Regions from separate parts of the Homo sapiens genome. Here all the other regions are linked to region 1. Evidence: promoter capture Hi-C in human tissues and cell types (Jung and others, 2019). All regions are on one chromosome and are shown on one strand. The core of a region is centred on a gene start or on the middle of the fragment in contact, and the rest is flanking DNA. Distances in the headings are between cores, read along the strand shown. Region 1 holds the start of UBC (ubiquitin C). Region 2 overlaps ZNF664-RFLNA (ZNF664-RFLNA readthrough). Region 3 overlaps NCOR2 (nuclear receptor corepressor 2).

What was found. Contacts are between HindIII fragments. The study calls those that stand out against the background at their distance.
Region 2: a fragment that was not itself captured here is called in contact with the fragment with the promoter of UBC in region 1 in 1 of the 25 tissues and cell types used here (hippocampus).
Region 3: a contact is called between a fragment that was not itself captured here and the fragment with the promoter of UBC in region 1, in 1 of the 25 tissues and cell types used here (IMR-90 fibroblasts).

Annotation. Positions count from the first base shown.
Region 1 is chr12:124,913,400-124,916,378 of GRCh38, forward strand. It overlaps UBC (ubiquitin C), which reads right to left and starts at 1,251. Exons shown (of 2, transcript NM_021009.7): 1 at 1,188-1,251; 2 at 1-375. The coding sequence starts at 372. It overlaps MIR5188 (microRNA 5188), which reads left to right and starts at 2,148; the gene lies at 2,148-2,260. RefSeq lists enhancers at 548-1,505, 830-1,279, 2,604-2,979, 2,903-2,979, 2,944-2,979 and a silencer at 1,490-1,829. The HindIII fragment of the contact is 8,951 bases long and covers 1-2,979 here.
Region 2 is chr12:124,040,922-124,043,900 of GRCh38, forward strand. All of the region lies in intron 2 of ZNF664-RFLNA (ZNF664-RFLNA readthrough), which reads left to right. Among named protein-coding and RNA genes, the nearest start is that of ZNF664-RFLNA, 69 kb to the left of the region's middle. The HindIII fragment of the contact is 4,891 bases long and covers 1-2,979 here.
Region 3 is chr12:124,391,348-124,394,326 of GRCh38, forward strand. The region is part of intron 18 of NCOR2 (nuclear receptor corepressor 2); the gene reads right to left. Among named protein-coding and RNA genes, the nearest start is that of MIR6880, 56 kb to the left of the region's middle. RefSeq lists an enhancer at 606-1,295. The HindIII fragment of the contact is 4,462 bases long and covers 1-2,979 here.

The DNA of each region.
Region 1 (2,979 bases), core at 1-2,500:
CTTTCCGGCAAAGATCAACCTCTGCTGGTCAGGAGGAATGCCTTCCTTGTCCTGGATCTTTGCTTTGACGTTCTCGATGGTGTCACTGGGCTCGACCTCAAGGGTGATGGTCTTGCCAGTGAGTGTCTTCACGAAGATTTGCATCCCACCTCTGAGACGGAGCACCAGGTGCAGGGTGGACTCTTTCTGGATGTTGTAGTCAGACAGGGTGCGCCCATCTTCCAGCTGTTTTCCAGCAAAGATCAGCCTCTGCTGGTCAGGAGGGATGCCTTCCTTATCTTGGATCTTTGCCTTGACATTCTCGATGGTGTCACTGGGCTCAACCTCGAGGGTGATGGTCTTACCAGTCAGAGTCTTCACGAAGATCTGCATTGTCTAACAAAAAAGCCAAAAACGGCCAGAATTTAGCGGACAATTTACTAGTCTAACACTGAAAATTACATATTGACCCAAATGATTACATTTCAAAAGGTGCCTAAAAAACTTCACAAAACACACTCGCCAACCCCGAGCGCATAGTTCAAAACCGGAGCTTCAGCTACTTAAGAAGATAGGTACATAAAACCGACCAGAGAAACTGACGCCTCACTTATCCCTCCCCTCACCAGAGGTCCGGCGCCTGTCGATTCAGGAGAGCCTACCCTAGGCCCGAACCCTGCGTCCTGCGACGGAGAAAAGCCTACCGCACACCTACCGGCAGGTGGCCCCACCCTGCATTATAAGCCAACAGAACGGGTGACGTCACGACACGACGAGGGCGCGCGCTCCCAAAGGTACGGGTGCACTGCCCAACGGCACCGCCATAACTGCCGCCCCCGCAACAGACGACAAACCGAGTTCTCCAGTCAGTGACAAACTTCACGTCAGGGTCCCCAGATGGTGCCCCAGCCCATCTCACCCGAATAAGAGCTTTCCCGCATTAGCGAAGGCCTCAAGACCTTGGGTTCTTGCCGCCCACCATGCCCCCCACCTTGTTTCAACGACCTCACAGCCCGCCTCACAAGCGTCTTCCATTCAAGACTCGGGAACAGCCGCCATTTTGCTGCGCTCCCCCCAACCCCCAGTTCAGGGCAACCTTGCTCGCGGACCCAGACTACAGCCCTTGGCGGTCTCTCCACACGCCTCCGTCCCACCGAGCGGCCCGGCGGCCACGAAAGCCCCGGCCAGCCCAGCAGCCCGCTACTCACCAAGTGACGATCACAGCGATCCACAAACAAGAACTGCGACCCAAATCCCGGCTGCGACGGAACTAGCTGTGCCACACCCGGCGCGTCCTTATATAATCATCGGCGTTCACCGCCCCACGGAGATCCCTCCGCAGAATCGCCGAGAAGGGACTACTTTTCCTCGCCTGTTCCGCTCTCTGGAAAGAAAACCAGTGCCCTAGAGTCACCCAAGTCCCGTCCTAAAATGTCCTTCTGCTGATACTGGGGTTCTAAGGCCGAGTCTTATGAGCAGCGGGCCGCTGTCCTGAGCGTCCGGGCGGAAGGATCAGGACGCTCGCTGCGCCCTTCGTCTGACGTGGCAGCGCTCGCCGTGAGGAGGGGGGCGCCCGCGGGAGGCGCCAAAACCCGGCGCGGAGGCCGCTGCACCGGGAGCGGGTGGGCGGCCCGCGTTCCTTAGCCGCGGCTCCGCGGCCCCTCCCCTCAGCCCCCGCGGTCCCCTCGGGTCGCGAACCCCGCGTTCGGCGGACGTGGGGCACGCAGCGAGCGCCTTCTGCAGAGTCGGGGTCTCCCTCCCCTCCCTCCTGACCCGCCCTGGCCCACCCTGCGAGATGGACGGGTCTTTATTTTTGGGTCACATTTGAGGTAATGACGGGGCTTCCTTTGCTCAGCCCCCTTCAACCTCCCTGAGCCTCCCAGGCCGGTCGCGGGGGGCTCCCGGGGCCGCGGGACAAGGACAATGACTCGGCAGATCTCAGGGCGGGCGTGGCCCTAAAGCTGGGGAACGCTCGAGAACTTTCCAGGGGAGACACTGCAGAGGAGCTGGGTGTCCAGGTTAAATTTGGAAAAAAGAGGCGGAAACCCCACACAGTTTTATTTTAGCTGGAACGCAAGGCTGAGCGAACGACATCCTTCTAGACTGTTCTTCCACCTTCCTGTACATTCTGAGGGCCAGGTATGGAAAGGTCCTACTTGATGCCAACAGGGAGGCATGGAAATTTCTCTGGTTTCAATGGGTACGATTATTGTAAGCAGGATCCATTCAATAATCGGACCCATTTAAACCGGAGATTTTAAAAGACAGGAATAGAATCCCAACCTTATTTCAGTGCAGGGTAGGGTGTCAAATATGAAATGTAATTCTACAGGGCAATTCTATTTTGGTAAAAGAAGTGGGGAGAAAAGCATCACCAGCCAGCTTTTTAAATTTTTACCACAACCTATTTTGTGATCCCTACGTGTCATTTCTTCAGTATATTTTTTAAATGTTTTAAAATATACGAACATGGTGAGATTTTTTAAATGTGTCTTTTTAAAGTGTACAGTGAAAAGTCTCCCTCATGCCCTCAATTTCCCAGCCACTGTTCCTTCTGGACTCTTCTACAAATAGTCCCTGTTTCTACAAATGTATTGGAGGTAGGGAGGCTATTTTGATTTCTACCCTTAAAAGCTTCAAAAAAAAGAGAAAAAGAGGCTACCAACTGAAAAATATTTTGCCATTAGGAAAAGGCTGCATTCTTGTTTTAAGTTATGAACATTACATTATTTAAACGGCAGACTTAAAATATGCATCAAAGCAAAATGAACCTGCTATATATTTTCTATGGTAACCCATGTTTCTGTGTATTTATGAAAATCCAAGATCTGTGCATTGTTCAAAACAGACTTTGACATCTCCAATTTTTAACATTTTAAAGAGAATGAATTCATGTGTTACTGGGAAATTAAAACGAATAATAAAAGTGTCATTTTCCAGGATTGGCAGGATACCCCAGTGATTTCCAATACACATTTCTGCAAAGTTTTTGTTTTTTGT
Region 2 (2,979 bases), core at 297-2,796, 870 kb before region 1:
CTACCCATCACCTGTCATTGCAACATTGATGAATTACTGGTGATGATCACTGCTTGAGTGTTCACAGGCATGTAACGATTATGTCCAGTTGAGAGTCAGAAAAAAGCTCCGGGGCCTTTTGTATGCATAGATAATGTATTCTGAATTATTTGGATGAGGCTTTATACCAGTCAGGGATTTTGCTTGCAAACAGTAGAAATTAACTGGCTAACTTGAGCAGAATAGGACCTTTCTAGAAGGATATTGGGCAGCGTTTGGAATGGAGAATCAGGTTTTATTTTATCATTTTTTTTCTATTTGTTTTTGAGATGGAGTCTCGCTCTGTCACCCATGCTGGCATGCAGTGGCATGATCTCGGCTCACTGCAACCTCTGCCTCCTGCGTTCAAGAGATTCTCCTGCCTCAGCCTCCCAAATAGCTGCAATTACAGGCGCCCACCACCATGCCCAGCTAATTTTTTTGTATTTTTAGTAGAGACGGGGTTTCACCATGTTGGCCAGGCTGGTCTCAAACTCCTGGCCTCAAGTGATCTGCCTCCTTTGGCCTCCCAAAGTGCCGGGATTACAGGTGTGAGCCACTGCGCCCGACTGAGAGTCAGGCTTGTAAAACCGGTAAGACCAAGAGCAGCTAGGCAGGTCAAGGGTCACAGGTACAGGCTGATGTGGACGCCGCCATAAGTCCTGCCATTATCAGACATTGGCCACTGCCCTGGGCAATCTGTCCTGGTCTCTGGGGCCCTGCAGCCTCTGACACTTGCTGTCCTGATGGGCCTTTGGTGCTGTCCTGCTGCTGGGAAACTCCCCATCACTGGATCTCTGTGTCACAGCCTCAAGGGTCAGGTCCTTAGTGTGGGCATCTGTGTTAGCGCCCTGTAGTTGCCATATCAAAGCCCACGTGCCAGGTGTCTTATAATAGCAGAAGTTCACCCTCACAATTCTGGAGGCCAGAAGGCCACAGGGGCACGTACCCACTGAGGCCCTAGGGAGGAATGTGTTTTGTGCCTCTCAGCTTCCGGGGGCCGCGGCAACCCTCAGCTTCAGTGGGCTTGTGGATGTTTCACTCCTATCTCTGCCTCCATCTCCATGTGGCCATCTTCCTTCTGCGTGTGTCTCTGTGTCCAGATTTCCCTCTTCTTAGAAGGACACCAGTCATACTGGATTTAGGGCACACCCTAATCCAGTATGACCTCATCTGAACTTGATTACATCTGCAAAGTCCTTCTTGCAGATAAGGTCACATTCACAGGTACCAGGTTCCAGGCTGAGGCCACATGCCTACGCCACAGCTCCCGGGGCTGGGTTATCTGTACCTCAGCCTTCGTTGGCCGTAGCGGGTGGTGGGTCCCTGCCTCACAGCAAGCCCCACGGAATGGGGGGTTCCCCCAGATAGGAGGGATGCTTGACATTCATAAAAGAGGCTTTCCCCAACTATACGGCTTCTTGCAGCAATGAGATTACACCATTTCCATCAGCACACCAGTAAAATTGAACAATCACTAGGGAATATCTTTAATTCTTTCTTCTGCCTTTCTTTTTATTATCTTGTTTTAATCATGAATGATTGCGGAGAAATGTTGATCTGATGGACTCAAGTTGAATGGAGTCTTTCTCCCATGTGAGGACCGGAAGCCACCCACACAGATCTCTCTTCTATGGGAGGTGTTCTAGGGTCACCTTATTAATCCCAAATTCTGTCTTACCCTGAGTCGGAACTCTTTCAGCAGAAAACTGTATCTCTGTGGCGTTGAATATGAGGATAGGTTCCAGGAGCACCAGTAGACGGAATGTTTGCCCTGTCACAAGCATTTCTCCTGGCCTAGAGACTGGCAGGGGTTCCTGCATCCCTAAGCAGGGACCCCTGCACCAGGCGAAGGACGAGCCCCCTTCCAGCAACGCGGGATGAGCCAGGGCCTCTCCCCTACCCTGCTTGTCCTTCCTCTGCCCAGTACCCTGCGTGGCTGCTCAGGAGAGTGACGTGTGGAAGCCACTCGGGGTGAGCAGAGGGTCTCTTAGTGATGCTGTTTGTTTCCTGGGACGTGGGTCAGGGAGCCCCTACCCTGGTTGAGAACCACTGAGGTAGGCCGGGATTTTGGATTCCATCCCCAAATTAGAGGAACAGAGTGCATGCATGCCTTAGGCACTAGAGGTGCTTCCACTGGGCCCGTTTGCACAAGTCTGGCCTCTCCCTGTCTTTTGCTGCCACCTGTTTATCACTGGTCAAGAGAGGCCACCGAGGCCGGGCACAGTGGCTCATGCCTGTAATCTCAGCACTTTGGGAAGCCAAGGTAGGCAGATCACCTGAGGTCAGGAGTTCGAGACCAGCCTGGGCAACATGGCAAAACCCCGTCTCTACTAAAAATACAAAAAATAGCTGGGTGTGGCAGCAGGAACCTGTAATCCCAGGTACTTGGGACGCGGAGGCAGGAGAATCACTTGAACTTGGGAGGCGGAGCTTGCAGTGAGCCGAGATTGCGCCACTGCACTCCAGCCTGGGCAACAGAGTGAGACTCCATCTCAAAAAAAAAAAAAAAAGAGGAAAAAGAGAGGCCACCAAATGCACGATGGAGCTGCTAGGGATGACAGCACCGCACCAGAAGCAGAAGCCCCAGACTTCCCAAGGAGAAGACAAAGGAACAGCTCTCCTGTGTTCCTTCATATTTTTATTGTAGGTACCTCAGCTCCTTAATGAAACTTAAGTATTAGGAGAAGAGCAAAATTAACTCAACAAATATTTAAAGCCAGGCCCTGCTGTGAGAAGAGAAATGAACTTTTCTTTGGAAACAAAAATCTCTGCTGTCGCGGGGTCTGTCCTCTGGCAATGATGAGCTTGGTGCTGGATATAACATCATAAAATTATCGTGACCGCTGCTCTGGGGGAAGCTGCTGTCAAATGATTCAGCTCTCCTCCCAAGCTTTAGATCTCTGTGTTTCCTTTCGGTCTCCTCTCCTTAGCTTCACACCTTACAGTCTCAGAGAGCAG
Region 3 (2,979 bases), core at 293-2,792, 520 kb before region 1:
GAGGGGTGCATCGACCACCGCCCCCCACCTGCCATTTTCCCCGAGAAACTCAGCATGCTCTGCCTAAAACCCTATCAAAGTTGGGAGGAAAAGAACCCAGCCGTCTTGGGCCTGAGTCATGCCACTTCCTCATTTCAGAAACCCCAAGCCCTGGCGGGGGGGGGGTTCCACAGGGACGGTGCCTCCGCATTGACACCCTTGACAGGCCGGGCACTCCTGCGTGTCTTGTCAGGACTTCCCGAACTCCTGCCATCCTGAAATCCTATCAGGATGTTGGCTGGATAACATCACACCTGGACTTGCACCTCCCCACTCTTTTCTCTCCATCTACTCTTTCAAAAATCAGCCTCGCTATCTGCCTTAGCCTCCGCATCAGCAATTATACCCGTAAATCATAGGTACGATGTGAAAAAGCTACGTCTTCTCCCAGCTCTCAAAAAAACCCAGACTCATTAAGATGAAATAAAGTCACCTGCATACGACCTGGCGCTGTCTCGCCTACCATTTCCGGAAGTGCCACGTTACACCTTTCAATGTCACGTTTTCCTACAGAGCAGAGCAAAGTTGGAAGCCAGCCTGGGGGGTCAGACAGACCACCCCATGCCCTGTGTCCACCGCAGTGGGCTGGGTGAGCACTGGCTCTCCCTCTGGCCTTGGTCTTCTCCTGTGCAAAGCAGAAGTCGTGTGTATGCGTGCGTGTGTACACACGCGTGTGGAGGGCCTGCCTTGTTCGTGAGCACCAGCCACGCCACGTGACGACAGGCATCATTACTACCGCATCGACCGCCAGGTGCTCCTTCCCTGAGTCAGGAGCCATGTGGATGCGGATTCATGGGTCTCCCCTAGGAGGGAAGGGGGGCTTGTTGATGCCTGATTTCATCTTCAAGGGTGCTGACAGGAGCAAGAGTGTGGTCCAGACCCTGCCCCTGTGTCTGGCTGTACCCCAAGTTCCTGCAGAAACCCCAATTTTTTCCTCCCTCCAAACCATCACAACAGACTGTTTCTCACATATCCGGCCGGGAGGCCAACCAGCCCCAGACATGCACCCTCCCTAGTGGTCTCTCTCCAGACCACACGTGGTGACAGTCTCCTTGGACGCGAGCCCCGAGGCACCGCACCGTCCCTGCCTGGTATACCACCCCTCCTGAGTCACACAGCTCGAGTGTCGCCTCCTGCTGGGCCCTGACGGACAGCTGCACCAGGAAGTAGCCGGGCAGACCCAAACCCAGGAGCAGCAGCACTGCCTACCGGCCCGCCCACCCCACTGTAAGCTCTGGCAGCTTTGTGCGGCAGAGCACACAGGCGCTCCTCTTTTGGGGGGCCCATGGTGGGCACAGCCCAAGGCTTTCCCAGTGGACATGTAGTGGAGGAGGTCCTGCTCTCCAGGCTCCAGGCTGGGGGCTCACCCCTCCCCTTCCCATGCCTTAGACGCTTCATCTATAAAAGCCCGTCAGGCCAGCCCATGTGCACAGCAATGGGTGGTTCCTGCCTCGCTCCTGTGAGAAGTGGCAAGGCCACTAGACAAGGCAGCTGGAGTCCTGGGGGAGGCCTCTGGGGTCTGCCCGGGCTTACTGGGAGCCACCAGGGCCTGGTCTTGCACATCCTCCCACTGTTGGCCGCTCCCTGGAGATTGGGAAGGACTGGCAGCCCGGAGGCGGGCCAGAGCCAACTCCCGGTCTAGAATGGTGTGACAATGGTGTGACCGGGAGCCTCCCAACCCCCTCCACAGCAGGTTCTCTGCCCGCCAGAGAAGAGGGCTGGGGCCTGGAGGAGCTGCCAGCAGAGCCTCGGGCCTCTCGCACAGCTGGGTCAGGCTTCCAAGCCAGGCCAGGCTGACCTTTCCCAGGGGAACCGAGTCCCTCATCCCAGCCCTGCTCCTGCCCTGCCCCTCCTTCCCCACTTGGCGCTGGGCCCGAGGGCAGGCGGCCAGCTCCCCGGAGCTGCCCGGTTCCTGGGGAAGCTGCCTCCTGAACATTCTCGGTCCTCAGGCAGCACAAGCCCCAGGGCAGGCAGCCACAGCCGCATGCACACAAGAAGGGAGGTTGCTCACTTGCCCACCAGAAACCCTATGGCCATCATGTCCCCAGCCCCTCCCCAGTGGCCTCCCACGCTCTAGAGTAATAGCTACACTCCATCCCATGCTGGCAAGGCCAGGCTCCCGGTGGCCCCTCTACCTTCTGGGATTCAACCACTTCTCATGGGGCCACACTGCCCCTGCCATGGGGCCTTTGCACATGCCTGTCCTGCCTTTGTTACCTGGTCAACAGGTTGGCCCATGGACTAACCTGTTCAGCTCTCATGCCAACCCCATTCCTACTCTGCAAGTAGAGTGCCTGGGTTCAAATCCCAGCTCTACCACTTCACAGCTGTGTGACCCTAGGCTGCTCACTAAGCCTCTCTAGGCCTCGGTTTCCTCATTTGAATAACAGAAGTATTAACAGCACCTGCCTCCTAGTCAGGTTGGTAGAGATAAAGTGACTTCATACACACAAAGCTTCCAGCAGTGCCCAGCACGCAGGATGGGCTCCACGGTGTTACTGGGTGATATTCACTATTATTTCGTGCTCTGGGTGTCGGCCCCTTCCTCGGGGTAGCCCTCTGACTGGTGGCCCCCAGCACCATGGAAGTTCCTCCAGTTGTCACTGTACATTTGCTTGGCAGGTGACTTACCTCCGACCCCCATCGCCGGGGCGAAGACAGAGGTGGCGGGGGCCGAGGCCCCAAAGTGTAGGTACCTGCTCAGGGTCAGACTCTGCAGGAGGCACAGCTGGGACCCAAACCTAGGGAGCAGGGTCTGGAGACTGCGCCCTAAGCTAGCGGCCTGCCATTTCTGAGTGCCTACTGTATACCAAGGACTGTTCCTATGTGGCTCGCTCCGTCTTTAAAGTGCCCCTGGGAGGTAGCATCCCTGCCTCATCTGAGAGAACGATGGTAACTGAGGGTGAAACAGATGGGCCAGGCCAAGGTCAGGGGGCTAAG